Linked DNA regions of Homo sapiens: region 1 is linked to region 2. The links are contacts of gene promoters, found by promoter capture Hi-C in blood cells and fetal thymus (Javierre and others, 2016). All regions are on one chromosome and are shown on one strand. The core of a region is centred on a gene start or on the middle of the fragment in contact, and the rest is flanking DNA. Distances in the headings are between cores, read along the strand shown.

Region 1 (5,536 bases), core at 2,557-5,056, 690 kb after region 2:
ATGAATAATATGTATTTCATTTAAGTTGTTTAGCAACTCAGTGGACTGTGAAGAACAAATACAATTTCAGTTTTATGGATGAGGTAACAGGCCAATGAAATAGGACACTGGGATTGTGTAAACATCTCCAAATCAGACTACACTAATAGGTCAGTCACTTTAAAAAATACTTAGAATTCTATGGGTTAGGTGTACGTGTCAATCTAAATGTATAGAAAGATTTCCTCAATGGAGCAGACAATGTTAAGCACTTTATAAATCAAAGAGCTGTTACTGTTGCATGGCACAGGCAGAGTTATGTCTATTATGTGATAAATCACAGTGGTTGTTCCAGTATTCACATTTGGGGATGACAGCTATAGCTTTGTGGCACACAGCAGCAGGTTGATTTCACCAAGCTGTTGATAGGGAAATGAAACAAGCTTTAAATATGTACTATGTGTCCATCTGTACTCTCCATGATAAATAATCCCCTTTTTACTATTCCTTTGTGTGAACTTCTGTCCTTTCAATGATGCCTTTTGTCTTTATTTTTCTTGAATAAAATTATTACTCAGGGACTCTGGAAGAACTGATTGTGATTTTCCTCTAGGGATTTAAAGATAGCCCTACATGTAGGTTACTGTTTAATCAAATCAGTATAGGTCATTCTTAAAACTACTGAGTTAAGGAGGAGCAGATTGTTTATCCTAGGAAGTTATTCTGCCTATGTGAGTATATAAAATGCGAATTTCAGTCAATTTGGGCTATAAGGTCTGGAGAAGAACTCTTCTTAGTTATGAAAATGTTAGCATTAATTTTAATAATGAATTTATGTGTTTATTGTTGTTTTTTTTCAACCTTTGTCAAGGAGTGGATTTTTTGTCTTTTTTTTGAAGGTGGTCTTAGATTAACTTCTGTAAAATTTGTTTCGTATTTAAGTCTTTTTTTTTTTTTTTTTTTTTGAGACGGAGTCTTGCTCTGTCACCAGGCTGGAGGGCAGTGGCGCAGTCTTGGCTCACTGCAACTTCAGTCTCCTGGGTTCAAGTGATTCTCGTGTCTCAGCCTCCCAAGTAGCTGGGATTACAGGCACACGCCACCATGCCTGGCTAATTTTTGTATTTTTAGTAGAGATGGGGTTTCACCATGTTGGCCAGGCTGGTCTTGAACTCCTGACGTTGTGATCCGCCTGCCTCGGCCTCCCAGAGTGCTGGGATTACAGGCGTGAGCTGCCATACCCAGACCGTATTTGAGTCTTGAAGAAAGCATTCTTTCTTATTGGTCTTAACTAAAGGGTCTTTTATATTAAAAAATTAGAAACAATTGTAAGATATTTTAGAGGCTACAGAGTAGTCTTGTTACCAGTCCATGTCATACTTCAATATTTGTACAAAAAGACGGTACATGTAATCTAAAAGAGTAGGTATTGCCAAGTAAATTGTATTTGGATTTGATATACTAATATTATTTTAATTGTTAATAAGAAAAAGAACCTTATGGCCAGGGATAGGAGGAAGGGGATTTAATAAAGAATGAGAGTTATTACATTGGATTGAAATAGGTTATCAAAAGCTTAGAGACGATACCAGGAAAATTCTCTTTGGGTTATATTAGTAAAGTTTGTAGGAATAAGCTGGGCACAGTGGCAGGGCACTTGTAATCCTAGCTACTTGGGAGGCTAAGGTGGGAGATTGCTTGAGTCCAGGAGTTTGAGCCTTGCCTGGGCAACAGAGAGACTCTGTCCCTTTCTTTTTTTTTTTTTTTTTTGAGACAGAGTCTTGCTCTGTTGCCCAGGCTGGATTGCAGTAGTGTCATCTCGGCTCACTGTAACCTCCGCCTCTTGGGTTCAAGCGATTCTTTTGCCTCAGCCTCCTGAGTAGCTGGGATTACAGGCATGCGCCAGCACGCCCAGCTAATTTTTGTATTTTTAGTAGAGATGGGGTTTCACCATATTGGCCAGGCTGGTCTTGAACTCCTGACCTCAAGTGATCCACCTACCTCGGCCTCCCAAAGTGTTGGGATTACAGGCCTGAGCCACCGCTCCTGGCAAAGACTCTCTTAAAGAAAAAAAAAAAAAAAAAAAAAAAAAAAAGAATTGGTAGGGGTAACTGGATATAAGGTGGTGGACTATTTACAGGATACCATAAGCCATAAGCTCATGGTCCATAGTTGATATGTATTAGAAGTAGAAGATTAGTGGAAACAATTAATTAATTTTGAACATAAATGAAGCATACAAAAGGGAAATTTGGCATACTTAGAAGTGTCATCAAAGAGACTTAAAAAAAATAAAGGGACTGGGTGTGGTGGCTCACGCCTGTAATCCTAACACTTTGGGAGGCCGAGGTGGGCAGATTGCCTGAGCTCAGGAGTTCGAGACCAGCCTGGGCAACGTGGAGAAACCCCGTCTCTACTAAAATACAAAAAATTAGCCAGGCGTGGTAGTGGGCGCCTGTAGTCCCAGCTACTCTTGGGAGGGTGAGGCAGGAGGATTGCTTGAACCTGGGAGGCAGAAGTTGCAGTGAGCCAAGATTGTGCTACTGTACTCCAGCCTGGGTGACAAAGTGAGACTCCGTCTCCAAATAAATAAATAAATAAATAAATAAGTAAAGGTTGGCTGGGCACAGTGGCTCATGCCTGTAATCCCAGCACTTTGGGAGGCTGAGGTGGGCGGATCACGAGGTCAGAACTTCGAGACCAGCCTGACCAACATGGTGAAACCCCGTCTCTACTAAAAATAGAAAAATTAGCCGGGTGTGGTGGCACACGCCTGTAATTTCAGCTACTCAGGAGGCTGAGGCAGGAGAATCACTTGAACCTGGGAGGCGGAGGTTGCAGTGAGCTGAGACTGTGCCACTGCATTCCAGTCTGGGCGACAGAGCGAGACTCTCTCTCAAAATAAAGTAAATAAATAAAGGTTGTGGCTTATGAGTGAGGTCATTAGGACCACAACAAGGAATTTAGCAGTGGTATAAAGCAACAAAGCAAATTTTGCTATAGGTCCATCATTCTCTACTTAAAAATTGAAAATAAAAGCCTGGCTCAGTAGCTTACGCTTGTAATCCCAGCACTTTGGGAGGCCAAGGCAGGAGGATTGCTTGTGCCCAGGAGTTTGAGATTAGCCTGGGCAACATAGTGAGACCCTGTCTCTACAAATAATGAAAAAATTAGCTGGGGATAGTGGCATGTGCCTGTGGTCCCAATCCTCAGGAGGCTGATGCAGGAGGATCACCTGAGCCAGGGAAGTCGAGGCTGCAGCGAGCCATGATCACACCACTGGGCTCCAGTTTGGGTGACAGAGTGAGACCCTGTCTTAAAAAAATGCAAATAAAACACTGTTTCAGAGTTAGTGTTTATAATAAAATGTTTTCCCTCTGATTATCATCTGCAATCTATTACTTTATGACTATACTGTTATTCACAACGTTTTAAATATTCCTGATGATAATGAAAAGAAGCTTATTTATAAACCAATACCAAATGGTTAGGAATTCACTTTTACTAAATGAATGCCTTTTTCTTTCTCTTGCTAGTGCCGAAAACATTTGAAGAGTCGGAGATTAGTCAGTGCAAAACAGCTTGGTGTGGATAGAATTGTAGATTTTCAATTTGGAAGTGATGAAGCTGCTTACCATTTAATCATTGAGCTCTATGATAGGGTAAGTTAAATTTGTGGGATATGGTGAAGGAAAATTTCTTATTAATCATTTTGTAATAGTGCTATATAACATGAGTGGGGGAACATTTTTTTTCTGTGTCAAAGGTTGTTACTACCCTAGGAAATGGGTGCCACACAAATAAAATAAAATTTTCCAGTAATAACCTTCATTTTATCTGTAGGTCTGAGTTTAGGCAGACTTTAGCCATTTAGAATAGCCTTATGAATGTAGGAGATGAAGATCTGAGAAGTAAATTATTTGGTACTTGACATTTCAGGACTAATATGCAACCAGAAAATAGTCAAATACGGTCATGCACTGATGCGCTGTATGTATAGTGATGTTTCAGTCAACAACAGACTGCATATAAACGTTGGTCCTGTAACATTGTAATGGATCTAATAAATTCTTACTGCTTAGTGACATCTTGATCCTGACTCTGTGTAGGCCTAGGCTGGTGTGTGAGTTTGTGTGTTAGTTTTTAACAAAAACATTAAAAGTAAAAACAAAACAATTTAAAATGGAAAAAAAGCTTAGAGAATATGGATCTAAAGAAAGAAAGTATTGTACAGCTGTACGATATGTGTTTTAAGCTAAGTGTTATTACAAGAGTCAAAAAGCTAAAAAGTTTAAAGTTTATAAAGTAAAAAAGTTCCAGGAAGCAAAGGTTAATTTATTATTGAAGAAAGAAAAACATCTTAAAAATAAATTTGGCTGAGCGCAATGACTCAGGCCGGGCACAGTGGCTCACACCTGTAATCCTAGCATTTTGGGAGGCCGAGGAGGGCGGATCACCTGGGGTCAGATCACCTGGGGTCAGGAGTTCAAGACCAGCCTGGCCAACATGGCAAAACCCCGTCTCTATTAAAAAATACAAAAATTAGCTGGGCGTGGTGGCGGGCACCTATAATCCCAGCTACTCGGGAGGCTGAGGCAGGAGAATCACTTGAACCTGGGAGGCAGAGGTTCCAGTGAGCTCAGATTGTGTCACTGTGCTCCAGCCTGGGCAACGGAGCAAGACTTTGTCTCAAAAATAAACTAACTAACTAACTAACTAACTAACTTAATCTGGGCCAGGTGTGGTGGCTCACACCTGTAATCCCAGCACTTTGGGAGGCCAAGGCGAGTGGATCACCTGAGGTCAGGAGTTTGAGACCAGCCTGCCCAATGTGGCAAAACTGCATCTCTACTAAAAATACAAAAATTAGCCTGGTGTGGTGGTGCGTGCCTGTAGTCCCAGCTACTCGGGAGGCTGAGGCAGGAGAATCACTTGAACCTGGGAGGCAGTGGTTGCAGTGAGCTGAGATCATGCCATTGTACTCCAGCTCAGGTGACAGAGTGAGATTCAGTCTCAAAAAGGAAAAAAAAAATATATGTGTGTGTGTGTGTGTGTGTGTGTGTGCGCGCGCGTGCGCGTGCGTGTGTATGTATATAAATAAATAAATACATAAATTTAATCTGGTCTGAGGTAAGCATAATTTTTTTAAAAATTAAAAAATAAAAAACAAATTTAGTGTAGCCCAAGTGTGCAGTATTTATCAAGTCTACAGTAGTATGCAGTAATGTCCCAGGCCTTCACATTTACTCACTGTCACTCACCCAGAGCAGTTTTCAGTCCTGCATGCTCCATTCATGGTAAGTGCCCTATACAGGTGTTCCATTTTTAATCTTTTATACCAGGGATCTTCAACCCCTGTGCCGCAGACTGGAACTGGTCTGTGGAACCAGGCCACACGGCAGGAGGTGAGCAGTATGCGAGTGAGCATTACTCACCTGAGCTCTGCCTCCTGTCAGATCAGTGGTGGCATTAGATTCTTATAGGAGCGTGAACCCTATTGTGAACTGTGCATGCAAGGGATCTAGGTTGCATGCTTCTTGCGAGAATCTAATGCCTGATG
Region 2 (6,129 bases), core at 3,630-6,129:
CTGGGGGCTCTGACCCCACATTTCCCTTTCGCACCACCCTAGCAGAGGTTCTCCGTGAGGGCACTACCCCTGCAGAAAACTTCTGCCTGGACATCCAGGCATTTCCATACATCATCTGAAATCTAGGCAAAGATTCCCAAACCTCAATTCTTGACTTCTGTGTACTAGAAGGCTCAACACCACGTGGAAGCTGCCAAGGCTGGAGGCTTGCACCCTCTGAAGCCACGGCCCCAGCTCTATGTTGGCCCCTTTCAGCTGCAGCTGGAGCAGCTGGAAAGCAGGGCACCAAGTCTCTAGGCTGCACACAGCACAGGGACCCTGGGCCTAGCCAACGAAACCACTTTTTCCTCCTAGGTCTCCTGGCCTGTGATGGGAAGGTCTGCCATGAAGACCTCTGACACGCCCTGAAGGCATTTTCCCCATTGTCTTTGGAATTAATATTCAGCTTTTCGTTACTTATGCAAATTTCTGCAGCCTGCTTGAATTTTTCCTCAGAAAATGGGATTTTCTTTTCCATTGTATTGTCAGGCTGCAAATTTTCCAAACTTTTATGCTGTGCTTCCCTTATAAGACTGAATGCTTTTAACAACACCCTAGCCACCTCTTGAATGCTTTGCTGCTTAGAAATTTCTTCTGCCAGATACCCTAAATCTTCTCTCTCAAGTTCAAAGTTCCACAAACCTCTAGGGCAGGGGCAAAATGCCACCAGTGTCTTTGCTAAAACATAACAAAAGTCACCTTTGCTCCAGTTCCAACAAGTTCCTCATCTCCATTTGAGACTACCTCAGCCTGGACTTTATTGTTATATCACTATTAGCATTTTTGTCAAAGCCATTCAACAAGCCTCTAGGAAGTTCCAAACTTTCCCACATTTTCCTGTCTTCTTCTGAGCTCTCCAAACTCTTCCAACCTCTGCCTGTTACCCAGTTCCAAAGTTGCTTCCATATTTTCAGGTAACTTTTCAGCAACATCTCACTCTACTGGTAACAATTTTTTTTTTTTTTTTTTTTTGAGACAGAGTTTTGCTCTTGTTGCCCAGGCTGGAGTGCAATGGTGCAATCTTGGCTCACCACAACCTCTACTTCCTGGGTTCAAGCGATTCTCCTGCCTCAGCCTCCCAAGTAGCTGGGATTACAGGCATGTACCACCATGCCTGGCTAATTTTGTAGTTTTAGCAGAGATGGGGTTTTGGTCAGGCTGGTCTCAAACTCCCGACCTCAGATGATCCGCCCACCTTGGCCTCCCAAAGTGCTGGGATTACAGGCATGGGCCATGGCGCCAGACCTCAATTTAATGTATTAGTCTGTTTTCATGCTGCTGATAAAGACAAACCTGAGACCGGGCAATCTACAAAAGAAAGAGGTTTAATTGGACTTACAGTTCCATGTGGCTGCGAAGCCTCACAATCATGGCAGAGGGCAAGGAAGAGCAAGTCATGTCTCACACGATGGCAGCAGGCAAAGAGAGGGAGCTTGTGCAGGGGAACTCCTCTTTTTAAAACCATCAGGTCTCGTGAGAGTTATTCACTATCATGAAAACAGCATGGGAAAGACTTGCCCTCATGATTCATTACCTCCTACCTGGTCCCTCCCACAACACGTGGGAATTCAAGATGAGATTTGGGTGGGGACACAGACAAACCATATCAGTAACATATCTGATGATCAATTCAAACTGGATGAAAGGGATATCGACTGCCTTCCTCACCTCTCCTTTTTAAAACTCTCATCCTAATGACCTGATACTAATCCTGAATGAGATACATGTTCTATTGCCATCCAGAACAAATTATATAAAAATTGCCCTATATTTGGAAAACATGGTTTATGCCTCAAAAGACAAGTGGCCCTAATTAGTAAAACAATAGTTTAATAATAATTATTTAAAAATCCAAATCATAATTGTGGCAATGTCTTCCAACATTTAATTGATTTCTGTTTAACAGATCTATAGAGCAGTCAACTGAATCATAGAGTTACATGTTGAAATTAGTTTATGTTGGCAGATTAATCAGGAGATTACCAGATTGCTTAAATCTGTATGTTCAATAGACTAAAGTTATTGTCCTTATGCTCTGTCCTTTCACACTTGAAGGTTTAATTAGCCATTTTGTCTTGGATAATAAATTGTGAACCTTAGCTTTATATAAGATAAAGCATTTTATGTCTCCCAATTCTTTTTTATTCAGCCTTGGCTAAAGTTAGAGCTGAAATTAGAGGCCACAGATTACAGTCAGCATTTTACTGAAGAACTTTCAAAGAAGGGAAGTACATTACAAAGCATGTGGCAAACCATTATCGTATATTATAATGATAAGGGTAAAAGCTGAAAAATATTTATGTGTCAGCATGAAGATACTAAGAATGCATGACAATTAGGTTGGAATGAAGGACCTATCAAGCCATATTTATTCTTATTCCATACCTTGTCATATGAAACTGGGTGGTTTGTAAGAAACTCTCTGGTCAGTTACCATGACATAACTAACATATTATTACATAAACTTCAACCTTGAAATTGTTTGCTTAATTGTCTAGGATGTAAAATTAAATTTACTCAGTGTACATTTAAGTAAATTGAATTTGCATTTCTTTACAAAGCAACCCACTTCACTGATCTTGTTAAAATTAACTCAACCAGTATTTTAAAAATCCTTAAGATTCTTTTGGAGTTAGTATAAAACAAATGTTTTCCTCTTTGCATGAATTGCAGTACAAGTAAAATAATGATTATAGCAGACACATAGAGTCTCGACTTTTTAACCACCACATAGAGTCTTGACTTTTTCCATGCTATCTGCCTCTAGGTTGATGGTCAAAGCATATGGATCTGCCATTACTGGCAACATAAAATATCCGCACTCCAGGGTCTTGTTGAAGCCTATGACCTCAAACATTTCACTGCCTAATTCATTTTAAATGCTGTATTTCAAGAATAACATGCTTAAAGGATTGTCAGGATATTTGTCCTCGTCTCAAACTGGGCATTCAGTTTCTACTTTATGAAGAAGGCTCATTAAATAAAATTTTTGGAAGTCTTTGCATTAGGAAAATATATGCCTCTTCTTGATCAATTGGTTACTCTTGATCTCAAAAACACTATAAAATCCTCTGGTTGGCCGATTTGTCACACTGTTCTGGTTTCGTATTTTCCTTCTCTTTAACGTCATACTAGTTTGCCCACTTATTTTTATCTTGTTTTATAGTAAGTGTTTTCTGTGTGCTGCCTGAAATTCCCTGGAGTAACGCAAGTGTAAACATGTAAGAATAAATATATTTCAGACTAGATAAAGGATCAGTGCTTATATGGCCAGAGGAAAAAAATCTCAAATGAATCTATGACAGTAAACAAGTGCTAAGATACCAATAGAACATTTGAAGAGATTTTGAGTCATCGAAGCCAAAAGTATGTGCCCACCAAAACAAGTGCCAAGAATCTTTGAAAGAAGGAACTGTTCTTCAACAATTTTTTCAATGCAGCAAACACATAGGCTTTGTCCATGGAGCATGTAAGTCTGGGCTTACTTATGTTCCCCAAATAAGTGCCCTTTGTGTGTGGAGCACAAGAAAATACATATATGCCCTGTCCTGTTAAGGTGCGAATTTAATTTCTACATTATACAATTATCAACAATAAGGAGTATTGTCAATTACTCCTTATTATACATTATACAATTATCAACAATAAGGAGTATTTTAATTCTCAAGAGCAGAATTAAAAATTGGATGTTCAAAGCCACAAGCCAACATCTCCAACTTGCTCTTTTATGATGTTTCAGTCACTAAATGCAGTGGCTGAGTGTTATCTGGCTTTTCTGTTCAAATTCTCTATGAGGCTCTAGAAATAACTTAGCCAGTATAATGTAACACTGGCAACTTAATTTCTACCTTCAGAGCAAGACTGGAACTGAAACTGCAAAACAGCTTGTGAAATATCAGCCAAATTACTTCCCCGAACTCCTGTTCCATATATGCTGTGCATTGTTAAGTATTTTAAGACCTCTTATATTCGATAACCCCCCTTACTATCCTGTAAAACGCTTTATAAACACTTTCCTGGGTGTCAGATGCAAAATCTTACCCTCTTCAAGCTGCAGATAAGGACACCGAGATGTTGCCAAATATGCTGTTTTGTCCCAGAGCACATACTGAGGAAGTGGTAGAACCAGAACCAGTCTGTGACCCCTTTGTTTTACTTTTGCGGAACTCCTGGTCTCATTAAAGGTGCAATACCAGCGATGAGACACTGCGTGTGCCCAACAGGGACAAAGGTCATTGAGCAGTCCTAGGAATTCAGACTTTCAGAAATGTCTCAGAAGAACTAAGTAGAAGGCAGGTTGTGCAGGTGTGCAGTGCAGCCTCAAACTGGTACCACCGGGATCGGTTTGCAAAACAGGAAGGTGCAGTAGGGTGTGCCGGGACTTAGTTAACCTGGCACTCCCCCACCTCCTTCCCCGGCGCCCCGCTGCCAGGTTACTTCTGGCCCGGTGCCCTTAACGTACCTTTTCCGTGTTTAACTTGGAGGGCTACGTTCCCATCGCCCTTCTTCCTCTACCCGTCACCCTACAGGCCTACCTGACAAATGTGGGGACGGTTTAGCCAAGGCCCGTTGGCCCACGAATGCCCAGGCGTGTGCCTTATTTCTGAGAGTGGGAGGGAGACAGCCCAGGCCCTGCAAGGACGCGCCCGGCTAGGGGGGCGCGGTGGCGCGGTCGGGAGGGTGTTGTGTTCTCAGCAGGCCTCAGGGCGGCACTCTGGTTCTGCGGCCGGAGTGCTCGGGCGGGCCGCTGGGCGCCGACCCATGCTGGCTGGGAACGTGTCTCCCGGTGACGCAGCCCCGGGTGGGGAACGTGGTGCGGCGGCGGCGGCGGCGGCGACTGTACGCGCCTCCGCCGCCCCCGAGAGGACGCGCCGTGCAGCGGCTGAGTGGCGGCGGCGGCGACGGCAAACCCGGAGCTGCCGGCCGGCGCGCGGGAGGAGGACGCGGGTGCGGTCTAGGAAGTAGGTCCCGGGCTCCGCGCTCAACAAAGACGGGGCCGCCCCCATTAGGTACGGAGCCGGCCCTGGGCCCCGGCTGGCGGGGAGGCCTCGTCGGGCAGTTCGCGGGCGGCCGGGGAGGGGGAAGGGCCGCAGACCGAACGGGGATACGGGGCGCCGGGGGCCCTTCCAGGCCCCTTTCTCTTCCACGGCCCCTGGCGGGACGGAAGGGAAGGGGCCGGGCCGCGAGGGCGCGGGCCGCTGGGGGTCGTAGCCTGCGACGCCAACCAGCCTTTGCTCGTCCCTCGTGCAGACGGAGCTGCGGGCGGAGGCTCCATGTTGGGAAGCGGCGCCGTTCGTGCTTGTTAGCGGGAATCCGGGAGCCGCGGGGTGAGCTGGCGGGGGCCGGGCCCTAAGTGAAGATGGAGGCCCCGCTGCGGCCTGCCGCGGACATCCTGAGGCGGAACCCGCAGCAGGACTACGAACTCGTCCAGAGGGTCGGCAGCGGCACCTACGGGGACGTCTATAAGGTAAGTGAGGCTGGCCGTGCTTTTTTCCTGCGGTCGACTGGGTCCCGGGAATGGGGCCACTTTCCTGCGAAGTATTGGGGCGAGAGGAGGATGCTTTTATTGTTGCCTCTTGGGGAGAAAGCGGCCGGGGTCCCTTTTACTCGGTTCTGAGCACCCTCGACTCATGGCTTGTTCTAATCGCTACCAACAGGCAGAACTAACCACACAGTTGCAAACCGCTGTTGCACTTTTTTTGTGGTTTAAAGGCTTTTTAATAGGGCTTATTTATGGTATTGAAGGGAATTTGAATCTGCTTGTGGAATTACACCGAAGGATGCTCTAGTGTTAGCATGGAAAAATGCTTCATGGAAGATAGACAGGAAAGAATATTGACATTCAGACATTTGCATTTTTTTAAAAAAATTTGTTTCAATGGATGAGTTTGACTAAAAAAGCCATATGAAACCCTGTCTCTGAGCTTTAACTGTAAGCAAACTAATATTGGTGACATTTATGCAAGCATTATCCCATATAAAAAGATGCTTTTCCTGGTGGAAGTTTGATCGTTTGTTTTTGGTTGGCGATAAAAATGTGATATTAACTTGCTGGGTTTTGTTTTACTTTAGCGGTTCCTTTCAGGGATT

The links. The method cuts DNA at HindIII sites, captures the fragments that hold promoters and counts their contacts. A CHiCAGO score of 5 or more calls a contact.
Region 1: a contact is called between a fragment that was not itself captured here and the fragment with the promoter of MAP4K5 in region 2, in 2 of 17 cell types (naive CD8 T cells and total CD4 T cells). The highest score is 5.2, in naive CD8 T cells.

Annotation. Positions count from the first base shown.
Region 1 is chr14:49,844,242-49,849,777 of GRCh38, reverse strand. It overlaps NEMF (nuclear export mediator factor), which reads left to right. Exons shown (of 33, transcript NM_004713.6): 4 at 3,513-3,638. Among named protein-coding and RNA genes, the nearest start is that of NEMF, 5.8 kb to the left of the region's middle. The HindIII fragment of the contact is 733 bases long and covers 3,440-4,172 here.
Region 2 is chr14:50,531,319-50,537,447 of GRCh38, reverse strand. It overlaps MAP4K5 (mitogen-activated protein kinase kinase kinase kinase 5), which reads left to right and starts at 4,879. Exons shown (of 33, transcript NM_006575.6): 1 at 4,879-5,000; 2 at 5,290-5,506. The coding sequence starts at 5,399. It also overlaps a transcript of ATL1 not described here. RefSeq lists a silencer at 4,556-5,185. The HindIII fragment of the contact is 11,447 bases long and covers 1-6,129 here.